Linked DNA regions of Homo sapiens: region 2 is linked to region 1. Evidence: promoter capture Hi-C in human tissues and cell types (Jung and others, 2019). All regions are on one chromosome and are shown on one strand. The core of a region is centred on a gene start or on the middle of the fragment in contact, and the rest is flanking DNA. Distances in the headings are between cores, read along the strand shown.

Region 1 (6,969 bases), core at 2,005-4,504:
AGTCTATGCACTGTGACATCCATAGAGAAGTGTTGGCTAGCCAAAAAATGTCACCTGAACTTAAGAACATTTTGCAGGATGTGATTAAAATTATCAACCACATTAAAGTACATGCCCTTAACTCACATCTGTTCACACAGCTCTGTGAGATGGACATAGAGCACACACATCTTTTATACACAGAAGTGGGATGGCTTTCTAAAGATAGATCACTGGCCGGAGTTTGAGTTATGAGGGCCACTCCAGAGATTTCTTCTAGAAAAGTAGTCACCACTGGCAGCACATTTCATAGAAGGGGTTACAAAACTTGCTTACTTGCTTACCTCCTCAATGAACTCCATCTGTCCCTTCAGGGGAGAACTGTGTTCAAGTCGGCAGATAAGTGGCTGCACTCAAAACCAAACTGGAATTATTGCGGCGACAAGTGAACACTGGGATTTCTGACACGTTTCAAACATTAGCAGAGATTTTGAAAGAGACTAAGCCAGGGCCTTCTCTCTCCCAGCTGGTGCATGATCACCTATCTCAGCTTTCAAAAGAGTTTGAGCATTACTTCCCAACTACAAAAGACACCCGAACTGGGAAGGATCCTAGATCCATTTGTGAATAAGCCAGGTGAATTGACTTTGTCCATGCTAGAAGAGGACCAACTGTTTGAGATAGCAAATGACCGGGCCCTAGAAGTATGTTTAAGACAACTTCAAATATCCATACATTCTGGATTAAAGTCAAGGCAAAGTATCCTGAAATTGCCACAAAAGCACCGAAAAGCCTGCTTCCATTTCCAACATCCTATCTTTGTGAAGCAGGGTCTTCTGCAGTGACAGCAACCAAAATGAGACTATGAAGTAGGCTGGACATAAGCAAACACACTTTGGGTGTCAATGTCTACCAACACACCCCCCCAGATGGGACTGCCTAGTTGCAGAAAAACAAGCTCAGGGGTCCCACTGATTCTACTCTATGGTGAGTTGTATTCATATTACAATGTAATAATAATAGAAATAAAGTCCACAATAAATGTAATGCAGGTGGGGCATGGTGATTCACACCTGTAATCCCAGCACTTTGGGAGGCCAAGGAGAGGATGGCTTGAGCTCAGGAGTTCGAGCTCAGGAATTTGAGACCAGCCTGGTTGACATGGTGAAATCCTGTCTCTACTAAAAATACAAAAATTAGCCAGATGTGGTGTCGCATGCCTGTAAGCTACTCCGGAGGCTGAGGCACGAGAATTGCTTGATCCCCAGAGGTGGAGGTTGCAGTGAGCCAGTATCGTGCCACTGCACTCCAGCCTGGGTGACCCAGCGAGACTCTTGTCTCAAAACAAATAAATAAAATAAATGTAACGTGCTTGAATTATCCCAACACCATCCCCCTTCCCCCAGTCCATGAAAAACTTATTGTCCATGAAACCGGTCCTTGGTGCCAAAAAGGTTGGGGACCACTGCTTTAGGGAACATTCCCCCTGGGCCAGGTCCTAAGCTGGAAGCAGGGGGTGCAGGTAAGGCCCATGCTCGCAAGTTCCTGATGCTACCTACAGAGCTCCCACCAACATCTGGCCACCCACAAAAACGGCTGCTCCCTCCAAAGAATTGACTTTCACCCTAAGTTCATCCATCTAACCTACTTCCAAGGAGGGGGCAAAGTAAACAGTAGATAAAGCACAGGCGTTGATCCAAAAGAGGAGTCCAAAACCCGGCCCTGACATGTACTAGTTTGTGGCTTTGGCTCCCCTCCAAGGCTTTCTCTATCCTACTGTGAAAAGAGATAACAACACTTATCTTTCCCAGTTACTGTAAGGTTTAGAAATAATGTATCTAAAGCACCTAATAAGCACACAGTCTCCTTAAATTAACATTAATTGAATCTCTCAGGTCAGAGCTGTCCTTATCAAACAATCACAATTAGGGACTGACTGGCAACGAGAAAGGAGGGAGAAAAATCACAGGGAAAATGGAACATGAGGAATGGAAGGGGAAAAAAATCATTCCTCAAAGTCTCCTTCAATGAACTACCGCCTCTTCAATGAAGCCTTCCCTCTCCTCTCCTTGCATTCCCATAGCACTTAATCACATTGAAATAGGTCCTTAGCTCTGAGAATGAATGAGATGCCAGGCACGGTGGCTCACGCCTGTAATCCCAGCACTTTGGGAGGTCGAGGTGGGCAGATCACCCGAGGTCAGGAATTCGAGACCAGCCTGGCCAACACGGTGAGACCCTCGTCTCTACTAAAAATACAAAATTAGGTGGGCGTGGTGGCGCATGCCTGTAATCCCAGCTACTCAGGAGGCAAGGCTGGAGAATCGCTTGAAACCGGGATGCTGAGGTTGCAGTGAGCTGAGATTGTGCCATTGCACTCCAGCCTGGGCGACCAGAGCGAAACTCCGCCTCAAAAACACAAACAACAACAAAAACAGAAAGAGAAGCAATGTCTCACTCCCACGTAATGCAAACCTCTGAGGATGCCAAATGCCCTAGCCCTACAACCCTGATCCAAGAGCAATGTACACAGGTAGCAGCACATTTCTTAACACCAATGCTACCCGTAAAGTACCTCTGGTGAGGATTAGCGGGAGGGTTTTTCCGCATAAAGACCTGCCACCTGAAGGTTAGACTCAGAACAGAGGAAGAAAACTGAGTCCTGAAGATAGAACGCAAAGGAAGTCTCTAACTTTAGAGTCCCTGGAGTCACAGCAGGCAGGCAGGCGCACCGCCGATACTGCCAAGAGGACCAGAGTTCGCAACTCCCCGCAGCAGTTCCGGAAGCTGGGGACGAAGCCAAGGAGAGAGGACGTGGGCAGGGCCGTGCGCGGACTTGTCCCGGCGCCTAGATCCCCGCCTTTGCCCGGGCGCACTGCGCGCGCGGCCCCCGCCGCTTTTGTCTTCTTCGCCCGACCGGGAACTTCCTCTGTCCCGCCCTCGGGCGCGCACACGGGAACTTGGGTAGGAAACGGAAAGCGTTTTGTGCATTTTTTTTTTAACAGAGTAAACTGACGCAGAAAATTCAGCATCTAACCTCCCCAGGACCCCCTATGGTCACCAGTTACCAACCTCCGGGCTGTCCCGGGCGGCGGCGACGGCAACGTTCACGCGCGCCGCGAGTTCCCAACACCCCTCTTTCGGCACTTCCGAGTCCCAGCGACATCGGCGGCGGCTGCGGGCTTCCCCGGGACGCCACCCTCTTTCCCCCGGAGCTGCCCTTTGGAGGAGCAGCGCAGCGCGCGTCCTCCGAGCACGCCCCTGCCGCCGTGCCCGCGCGCCCTCCGCGCCCGGACTCGGGAACCCGCGGCGCTCTCCGGGCGATGGCGAGCAGGCCGTGCTGCTGCAGGGGGCGGGCCAGAGCGCGGCCTGCGTTTCTGAACCGCGTTTGCCCCGCCGGCGGCCCGGGGCCCCTAGCCCCGCTCACCCCTCGGCTGTTGGTTCCCACTGACCCTGGCGTGCATATCTCTCCCCCACCCGTGTGTTCATTGCAGGTCTGGGGCTGCCTGCAAGTTAATTGCAGAGTGGAAGTCACCTGAAACTCGAGGTGGGCCGTCATTCCAACACCAGTGGTCCCCACCTACGTTTTGTAGGCGAAAGGAGGTAGTTCGGTGCGGTGGAAAGAGGGTGGGCTTTGCAGCCCTGGCAGCTTCGAGGGCTTACTGTGTGAACTTAGCCCCTGTGAGCCTCCCTGTACACCTCTGTAAAACAGAAATAGACTTCCCTGCTTTTCTTTGTAAATTAGAGTGAAGATCAAATAGAATAAACTTTATGAATTGTAAAGCAACTTACAGAGATCACTACTGCAAAATGGGTACGAAGATTTTGATTGCGTTGTGAAAAGAGTGGAAGATCTGAAGATGCTCCAACGGGGTATAATTGGGACGATGTTGCTGCTCGGAGGCCTCCAAGCCTGAGCCAAGAGACAGGCTTGCCAGAGTTCTCCAGACTTATCTCAGCAGAATCACGTGGCTCTCATTAAAACCTCGGGCTTCTGGATCCCTCCCCAAACCAAAAGCATCAGACTGTCCATGGCAGGGGCGTCTCAGGTGGTTCTATGATAAGGTGAAGGTGGATAACTCTGCCCTAGGCAGCAGGGAAACTCGGAAGCTGTGCTCTCAGAAATTTCATCTAGCAGTCATTGTAATGGTCGAGAGGATTATTTTAATGATTTTAGAATTCTCCAGGAAACCAGAGTATGAACTCTCCAAGAGCTGGAGCTATCTTTTCTTTCTGCTTCCCCCCAACCCACTCACCCCAAAACCTGGTACTGGATGGTGTTCAGTAAGCAGGTGTTAGTAAACTAGCCCCAAATAGGAGTGCCAGATTTAGCAAATAAAAATACAGCATACTCAATTAAAATTGAATTTCAGGCTGGGCGCGGTGGCCCACGCCTGTAATCTCAGCACTTTAGGAGCGGTAGCAGGAGGATCACTTGAGGCCAGGAGTTTGAGACCAGCCTGGCCAACATGGTGAGACCCCGTCTCTACTAAAAATACAAAAATTAGCCGGGTGTGGTGGCCTGCACCTGTAATCCCAGCCACTTGGGAGGCTGAGGCACGAGAATCGCTTGAACCCGGGCGGCAGAGGTTGCAGTGAGCTCAGATCGCACCACTGCACTCCAACCTGGGTGACTGAGCCGGACTCTGTCTCAAAAAAATAAGTAAATAATTTCAGGTGAACAATATGTAACTTTTTAGTATCACTATGACCCATGCAATATTTGGGATATACTTATTTTTTTTAAGTACTTACAGGAAGCTTGTAATCCCAGCACTTTGGGAGGTCGAGGTGAGTAGATAACTTGAATCCAGGAGTTCGAGACCAGCCTGGCCAACATGATGAAACTCCATCTCTACCAAAAAAAAAAAAAAAAAATGGTATATCTGAAATTCAAATTTACATCCTGGGTATCTGAAAATCAAACTTAACTGGGTATTTTATCTGTCAACTCTAGATCCAAGGGTTTGGCAGAGGGAGTGGCAGAATAAGAACTCAACTCAGGTAGTGTCAAACTCAGGGACAGGGATGTGATAACAGCTCCTATATTATTTCTAAAAGATGCTGTTGTTAATATAGGTTCAGTGTGATTTACACTTAACCCCTGTCTACATATGCACTTTAAATTCACCGGCGAACACAAAGGAGATAAAGGCAGATTTAAACACAGGCAATCAGAAACATCAAATAAAAATAGCCAAAATTTATGTGTGTGTGTATATATATATATATATATATATATATATATATGTATGTATTAGAGACAGTCTCACTGTGTCACCCAGGCTAAGCACAGTGGCATGATCTCAGCTCACTGCAGATTCAAGCAATTCTTGTGCCTTAGCCACCTGAGTGGCTGGGATTACAGGCAAGCACCAGCCACCACACCTGGCTATTTAGTAGAGACAGGGTTTTGCCTTGTTGGCCAGGCTGGTCTCGAACTCCTGGCCTCAAGTGATGCACCTGCCTCAGCCTCCCAAAGTGCTGGGATTACAGGTGTGAGCCACCATGCTTGGCCATAATAGCCAAAATTTAAAGATAAGCAATAGACTGGGATATTTGCAAGAAATTTGCAAAGTGTTAATTTTAAAATTATATATAGAGTTAATACAATCAATAAGAAAACATTAGAAATCAATTATAGATGAGCAAGACACATTTATAGACAACCCACTAGAAAAAGGAGGAGGGAAATAAAAGTAGGAAACAAAAATATATTGCAAAAAGCTCAATGAAATGCATAGTAAAACAAGAACATGGTGGCTCACGCCTGTAATCCCAGCACTTTGGGAGGCCAAGGTGGGTGGATCACGAAGTCAGGAGATCAAGACCATCCTGGCTAACGTGGTGAAACCCCGTCTCTACTAAAAATACAAAAACAAAATTAGCCAGGCATCGTGGCGGGTGTCTGTAGTCCCAGCTACTCGGGAGGCTGAGGCAGGAGAATGGCGTGAACCCGGGAGGCAGAGGTTGCAGTGAGCCGAGATCGTGCCACTGCACTCCAGCCTGGGTGACTGAGCAAGACCCCGTCTCAAAAAAAAAAAAAAAAAAAAAAAAAACAAGAACACACAATTTTCACACATTAAGTTGGCAAAAAATTAATAAATAACATTACAGCCTGGCATGGGTGCTATGTGATAGCACTCACACACAATGTTTAGTTGGGTAAGCAATTTGGCAGTATGAAAACTTAAAATTTATCAAAATCTAAGGGAGGTGGGGCAAGATGCCAAATAGAAGCTTCCACCAATTGTCCTCCCTTCAAGAACAACAAAATGAACAACTATCAACAAAAAACACCTTAATAAGAACCAAAGATCAAGTGGGCCATTGCAGTACCAAGTTTTAACTTCATATCACTGAAAGAGGCACTGAAAAGCGTAGAGAAGACAGTCTTGAATTGCAGACGCTACCCCTCCCTCATCCTACAGCAGCAGCTGGGGAAAGATTCTCTCAGATCTTATGCAAGACCACTAAGGTGGTACCTCTGAGTCTGCAAGAGCCGTAGCATTCCTGAGCTTGAGGTGCCCTCTAATGCAGATATGATGGCAGTGACCCAAACCTAAATGACAACACCCAAGTCCCTTAGAATACCTGGAAAGCCTTCCCAAGAAGGATGAATACAAACAAGCCCACCCTGTGAAGACTACAATAAGTACCTAACTCTTCAATGCCCAGACACTGACACACATTCACAAGCATCAAGACCATCCAGGAAAACATGACATCACCAAACAAACTAAATAAGGCATCAATCCCAGAGTGACCTTTCAGACAGAGAATTCAAAATAGCTCTTTTGAAGAAACTCAATGAAATTCAAGAAAACATGAGATGGAATTCAGAATCCTACCAGGTAAATTTAATGAAGCAAATGAAATAATTGAAAAGAATTAAGCCCGAAATTCTGGAGCTGAAAAATACAATTGATATGCTGAAGAATGCATCTGAATCCTTTAATAGCAGAATTGATCAAGTAGAAGAAAGAATTA
Region 2 (6,969 bases), core at 2,504-5,003, 150 kb after region 1:
GAGCTACTGTAGCAAAATATTACCCAGTGGTTAGAAATAATTATCAAAGTAATACAGGATGAATAAGTTTTGTTTGACAGTTTATAAATAATTAAAATAGAATCTTTATACTTGCTTTGTGACTAAAAAATAAAAAATAAGTAAGATAAGTGGTATAAAATGTAAAGCCATATTGTAAGCCCTTGTTGTGTTTGAACCCTTGATAAATAAGTGAATAGAGGCTCAGATTTCATGGATTAAGGGATGTCAAGCTAGTTAGAAAGGATCTAGAGAATAGGAAATCTGGAAAATAAAATTTATTAAAGGTATTAATATTATTTAGAAAAAAGATGGTTGATTTAATAATGCCCCCCAAGCATATGAAGTGACTGTTTATGCCAAAGATAATGAGTGTCCTTTCATTAATCATGAAAAGATGAAAATAAAATTACATGAACACTTATTAAGTGTTGGATAACTTGCCTCGGTCAACCCATTTAAAACTCATAACTCCATGCTGAGCAGAGTAATATTTCCAGATGGGAAAATAGGTTTGTAAACCAAAAACATCAGAGAAATCCCAGTTAAGGGACAGTCTACAAAATACCTGTCCAGTCCTCCTCAAAACTGTCAAGGTCGTCAAAAACAAGGAGTGTTTGAGAAACTGTCATAGGCACAAGAAGCCTAAGGAGACATATAAATAAACGCAGTGTGAGATCCTAAACAGGATCCTGGAACAGCAATAGGGCATTAGATAGGCAAGGAGAGGTGACTAAGAAAATCTGATTAAACCAGGGATTTCATTTAATTATAATGAAGCAAATTGGATATTAGTTGTAAAAAATGTACCAGTGTAAGATGTTATTAATAGGGGGATCTGGGTGCATGGTGTATGGGAACTCTCTGTAGTATCATCTGAATTTTTCTGTAAATCTACAACTGTTCTAAAATGAAGTTTATTGAAAAAAAAAGCTTGGTGTCAGCTTAGTATTGTTTCCCTATTAACAGTTATAGCAATGTCAGAAATAGAGGTTTTTTAAAAAATCAATTAATGAGCCAGAAATCACAGAGGAAATGGGGTTTCATAAATCAACTTCTTTTTGTTGAACAAGTATTCTTTTCATCTCAGGTATTATTGAATATATTTCTCAAGTGTATTTGTATATTTTTATTGCTTTGGAAAATAATGCACATTAAATATAATCTAACCATTCTTGGCTGATTCTATTCAATTAAAACAAATAGCTGCCTAAAAAGACACCCCCCAAAAAAAACTCTCAAGCCCCCTCAAACTTCCCAATGTCCCAAACTCCATCAGAAATAAAGATTCATTAATACTCATTCATTTTATGCCCTAGATACTGTTCAGGCATGGGGCACACAGTTGTGAAAAGTTTCTGCCATTGGGGAACGTATATTCTAATGAGAGGATGTCAGCTCTTGATTCCTGTGACTTGGTCATTCCAGTGCTTTGCATGACTCCTCACTGAATTGGTCATCAATTCTCAGAACGCTTCCTTTTCAATGTCTCTCTCACTCATCTCATTAAAGAAAAAAAATTCTCTATTCACATGATCTAGGTTACTAGTATTACCTTATATCTAATCACTTATGATTTTAAACATCTGGTTTTAAAAAAATAGCTTCCGGCCAGGCGCGGTGGCTCACACCCATAATCTTAGCACTTTGGGAAGCCGAGGCAGGTGGATCACCTGAGGTCAGGAGTTTGAGACCAGCCTGGCCAACGTGCTGAAACCCCGTCTCTACTAAAAATACAAAAATTAGCCAGGCGTGGTGGCGGGCACCTGTCATCTCAGCTACTTGGGAGGCTCAGGCAGGAGAATCACTTGAACCCACGAGGCAGAGGTTGCATTGAGCTGAGATTGTGCCACTGCACTCCAGCCCGGCGACAGAGTGAGACCCCATCTTAAAAAAAAAAAAAGCTTCCAATGGATCTCTTTCTGATTCTTACCCCTATTAAACTGGCCTTCTTAAAATTACTCTTCTACTCTAAACCTTATGGGGTTAACTATTCAAGTCTCTAGTCTGGATTCAAGGGATTTGACAATCTGGTTTTCATTTGCCCCTCATGACATTTCTGGTGTCCTTGCCTTAACTCTGGTCACTGCTTGGGTTCTTTCTCTCTTCACCCTACAAATGTGTTCCTCCAACATTCTTATTGCTTCAGTTATGTCTGTAGGTTTGATGCTCAGGTTTTAGTTGTTCCTCTGGCTTTCTACCTATCACTTCATTTCATCCCTTGGGTCACAGTTAAACTCATTTCTTGTAGTTTGATGAAGTTGGAGAGTTAGGCATTTTGAATCTCTCCAAAAGCCTTACAATCCATTCCTAAAATAACTCCTTCCAGTACTGCTGGCAGGCAGTGTTCTGGAGACTTATCTTACTCTTTGATTTTTGCCCCCAACAATTAGGTGTTAGACCTTGCCTTTCCAAATATTGTTTGGAACTTCTGTTTTTTTGCTACAGTGCTATCTAGCATTTTCCTCAGTTACTATGAGTTTACTTATCAGTGTATGCTAGTGCTGCAGGGATAAAATAGACCCCAAATGAATAACAGCTCAAATACACAGTGGAAGTTTTTCTTTCTCATGTAACACTCTGAAGATATTACTGGTTGATGGGTGATGACCTCCAAGCAGTGAATCAAGGACCCAGGCTCCTTTCATCTGTGGCTTCACCATCCCTTAGTATATTAGCCATCTTCTGTAACCAGCTAATGCATGGGGAGAGAGACCATGGAGGCACTGGGCCTAGAAATGGTACATACCACTTCCACTCACATTCCAGTTGGCTAGGACTCAGTCCCATAACCACAGATACTTGCAAGAGAGGCTGGGAAATGTAGTCTAGCATGCGTCCAGGAAGAGAACAAAGGTTTAGTTAAATAGCTTACTTTCTCCCTAAAGAAGACCACCTAAAGTCCCATCCAGTTATTGCAGTCTTCTCCAAGTCCTCTATCTCTGGTGATACACTCTCCTTTCCATCAAGTCCAATGACCTGGGAATTTAAAGATATCTGCCCCTCCAACTTCCACTAAATACATAATGCAGAGCAGGAAGAAGATAACTGCCATTAAAAATTCCCATTTGAAAAAGGGACGAATGAGAAACATAGCAGTCATTGATTCACAGCAGTGAAACCCCGGCCCCCAATTCTCTCAGCAGAGGCAGTTTTTAAATGTTTATTTCTGTTTCCTGTTTTTTTTAGAGACAGGGTCTTGCTCTGCCAACCAGGCCAGAGCGCAAGAGTGCAGTGATATGAGCATAGCTCACTGCAGCTTCGAACTCCTGGGTTCAAATGATCCTCCCACCTCAACCTCCTGAGTAGCTGGGACTATAGGCGTGTGCCACCACGCCCGACTTATTTATTTATTGGTAGAGATTGGGTCTCCCTTTGTTGGCCAGGCTAGTCTCTAACTCCTGGCATCCCTCTGCCCCACCCTCCCAAAGTGTTGGGATTATAGGCGTGAGCTGCCACGCCTGGCCTAGGGGCAGTTTTTTGTTTGGCTCCATCTATTTTCTAAGAGGAACTCTGTTATTCATTATTCTCAGTGATCCCCTGCTCTGACTTCTGAGGAGTCCGAAGACTGTTACATGCTATGGTTTCATTTGAAGCAGATATTGAGAACTGTTTCCTTCTTGGAGGCCACACAACTTTCATAGCTTGCTTCATGAGGATGAAAGTTGGCCTGGAGTTCCTCTGAAACAGGAGGGAACACTAAAACAATTCTGATATTTGCCATGAGGTTGAGTCCCTGTGTTTGGTTGAGCAGTCTCAATGGGCTTTTCTTATTCAACACTTTTTTCAATTTTCTATCTTAATACTTGGGAATCCAGAAGCAGCAGACTTTTCCAACCCCAAGGCAGTTAATCTCAGGGCTCTTTTCCATTCCCTTCAATCTCTCCGTGAGAGCCACAGAACTCCTGCCTGAGTTTACTGCTTTCTCATAATACATTTTAGCAAGGAAAATCTCAAATGCACCGCTACTCTGGCTCTTTCCATCCATTTCCCCTGAACTACACTTTCGGTAGTTGCACTGACCACCTTCAATATACAGGCAACTGGTTATCCGTGCTTTGCCACTGCAAAATACGGCTACAGGTTTCCAGGCTGCTATATCTATTTCCTCACCACTGGCTGCCTGCCTGCTAAGTTAATGTAGAATATTTCAGGTTTTCATTCTCACAGAACTCCACTGGAAGGTATCAATAGTTTTTTAGTTTCGGTTGTTTATAGTAACAAATGTACTCCAAAATAAGTAATGGCTCAAAAATAATAGAAGTTTTTTTTTCCTTATTATGCTGTCATTCCAAGGTATACATACCTGGTTGTCTGTTTTCTGTGAGGTGACTCAGTGACCCAGAATCTCTCCAACTTGGGGCTTTGCCATTCCTGAAAGCTTTCAGTTTTCTCTGTGTCCAGCCAGTGGAAAGTGAAAGAATGCACGGAAAAGGCATATTTGATTCCTTTTTTTTTTTTTTTTTTTTTTTGAGACAGGAACGCCCTTTGTTGCCTAGGCTGGAGTGCAATGGCACAATCTCGGCTCATTGCAACCTCCACATCCTGGGTTCAAATGATCCTCCTGCCTCAGCCTCCCACGTAACTGGGGCTACAGGTATATGCCACCATGCCTGGCCATATTTGATTCTTAAAAAGCCTCCTGGGCTGGGCGTGGTGGCTCACACCTGTAATCCCAACACTTTGGGAGGCCAACGCAGGTGGACGGTTTGAGCCCCTGAGGTCAGGACCAGCCTGGGCACCATAGTGAGACCCTGTCTCTACAAAAAATAAAAATATTAGCCGAGTGTGGTGGCATGCACCTGTAGTCCCAGCTACTGGGGAGGTTGAGGTGGGACGATTGCTTGAGTTTGGGACATCAAAGCTGTAGTGAGCTGTGATTGTGCCACTGCACCCCAGCCTGGGCAAAAGAGCAAGACTCTGTCTCAAAAAATAAAACCTCCTAGAAATTGGACATCATCTCTGGTTGTATTCAGTTGGCTAGAACTCAGTCACATGGCCATGCCTAATCTCAAGGCAAGACATTAGAAATAGTAAGCTAGCCATATGAACAAGAAAGAGAAATACATGGGTTCTGGTGAAGAATTGGCAGTTGCTACCACATATTAAAAGTATTCTTTGGAAGGTTTTCCTTTAGATATATTTTCTTTATGCTGAGTAGATGTTTTCATTTTTTCTCTTACTAATCAATATAAGTTTATGAGATCCTCACATAATTTGCCCCATTTATTTGGCACTTAATTTCATAAAAATATGTAGTGTATTTTTATAATTCATTGTAAATTACTAATAAAATATCCCATATATACCTTTACTGAGACCATTTATTTTAAAATTGGGAATGACTTTATTTTCAAATGGGAAATATCATGAAATATTTTGATAATCTATGGAAAGAAAAAGTTGGCTTAAATATTATTTTGCATATTGGAGATCAAAGGAGTTACAATCAATTTGCAATTAAAATATAATGGTTGGTGAGGTTTTGGTTTAAAAAAGAGAAAAACAAACAAAAAACATACCTTAAATATAGTAACCTGTTATAATGAATAACTACTAAATCCATTTATAACAATAGAAAATGATAATTTCATGATTTATTAGCAAGAATGCAGATGTGCCAATTTTTTTGCTGGAATTTCACTTTATATTAATTGTAATTCTCTGAAAGACCCAAATGAAAATAAAGTTTTTCAAAGTATTAAATAATAAATTGTCCCTAAGTAAGACATTTCTTACAATTCAGAAAACAAATTTTGTCAACACTCAAGCAAATCTGTTACTTTTGGCTTTTTTAACCTTAAATGTCTTTTTTTTTTTTTTTTTTTTTGAGACAGAGTCTTGCTTTGTCACCCAGGCTGCAGTGCAGTGGCGCGATCTTGGCTCACTGCAACCTCCGCCTGCCAGGTTCAAGCGATTCTCCTGCCTCAGCCTCCAGAGTAGCTGGGACTACAAGCATGCACCACCACGCCCGATGAATTTTTTGTGTTTATTTAGTAGAGATGGGGCTTCACCATGTTGGCCAGGCTGATCTTGAACTCCTGACCTTGTGATCTGCCCGTCTCAGCCTCCCAAAGTGCTGGGATTACAGGCATGAGCCACTGTGCCCAGCCTAAATGTCTTAATAATAGAAGCTCAAAATGTTTGAGAGCGGGGGAATAATTCAGCAGTGAGTACTGGGAAAGGATACAAATTCCTTAAATTGTAGACTGGAGATTACATTATGAACCCATTTATTCTGAGCAGAAGAAGTGTTTCATGTTTTCATTATATTTCAGTAGAGACAACTTTACAAAAAGGAAAAAAAAAAACCCAGACCAATTGGGCACTGGCATTCCCCTCTTTAAAAATGTTAACTAAAAAAGGCTCTGGATAATTTATGGAACTAAGGATTCAAAGACAATCAGAGATTAGATGATGCAGCAACTTTAATTTCTTTCAGTTTTAGAGCACCAAACGTTTAAATTCTTTTTCATATGCAAAATAGTACTTGTTAAGTCTGTTGTTATAAATCTTTGTTGCTGGAAGTAAAATGGACAAGGTAATGAAATATGAAAAATATCTAAACTCCAGGTCTTAGGGAAACAATACAACTAGCTAATGAAAAAGAATTAAAAATCAACAAACTACTATTGGCAAAGAGAAAATTATTTTGTTAAACAGGATAGCAATACTGATATGAATGACAACAAATTCACATTAAGTGAAAGAACAAACTAGGTAACAGTTCATATTCCAGCTGAAGATACTGAGATCATTTTAAAGCTATTTAGTTTAATTTGTGATTTATATGAACTTTAAAGGAGAATATTTTTAAATGTTTGCATTTGTAAGTCTATTTTCTTTGGAAGCCAGATTTGACTTACAATTAAAGAAAATAATATGACCCAAACCTTTTGAGAGTAATATTTTATAGCACATTTAGATGAGATTCCTTTCAAACCCAAGATC

Evidence for each region. Contacts are between HindIII fragments. The study calls those that stand out against the background at their distance.
Region 2: a fragment that was not itself captured here is called in contact with the fragment with the promoter of HHAT in region 1 in 1 of the 25 tissues and cell types used here (bladder).

What each region holds. Positions count from the first base shown.
Region 1 is chr1:210,325,187-210,332,155 of GRCh38, reverse strand. It overlaps HHAT (hedgehog acyltransferase), which reads right to left and starts at 3,254. Exons shown (of 12, transcript NM_018194.6): 1 at 3,052-3,254. RefSeq lists enhancers at 1,396-1,565, 2,678-3,037, 3,912-4,081 and a silencer at 3,198-3,447. The HindIII fragment of the contact is 7,053 bases long and covers 1-5,479 here.
Region 2 is chr1:210,170,775-210,177,743 of GRCh38, reverse strand. SYT14 (synaptotagmin 14) reads right to left here. Exons shown (of 9, transcript NM_001146262.4): 9 at 6,429-6,969. Among named protein-coding and RNA genes, the nearest start is that of SERTAD4, 59 kb to the left of the region's middle. The HindIII fragment of the contact is 4,632 bases long and covers 1,438-6,069 here.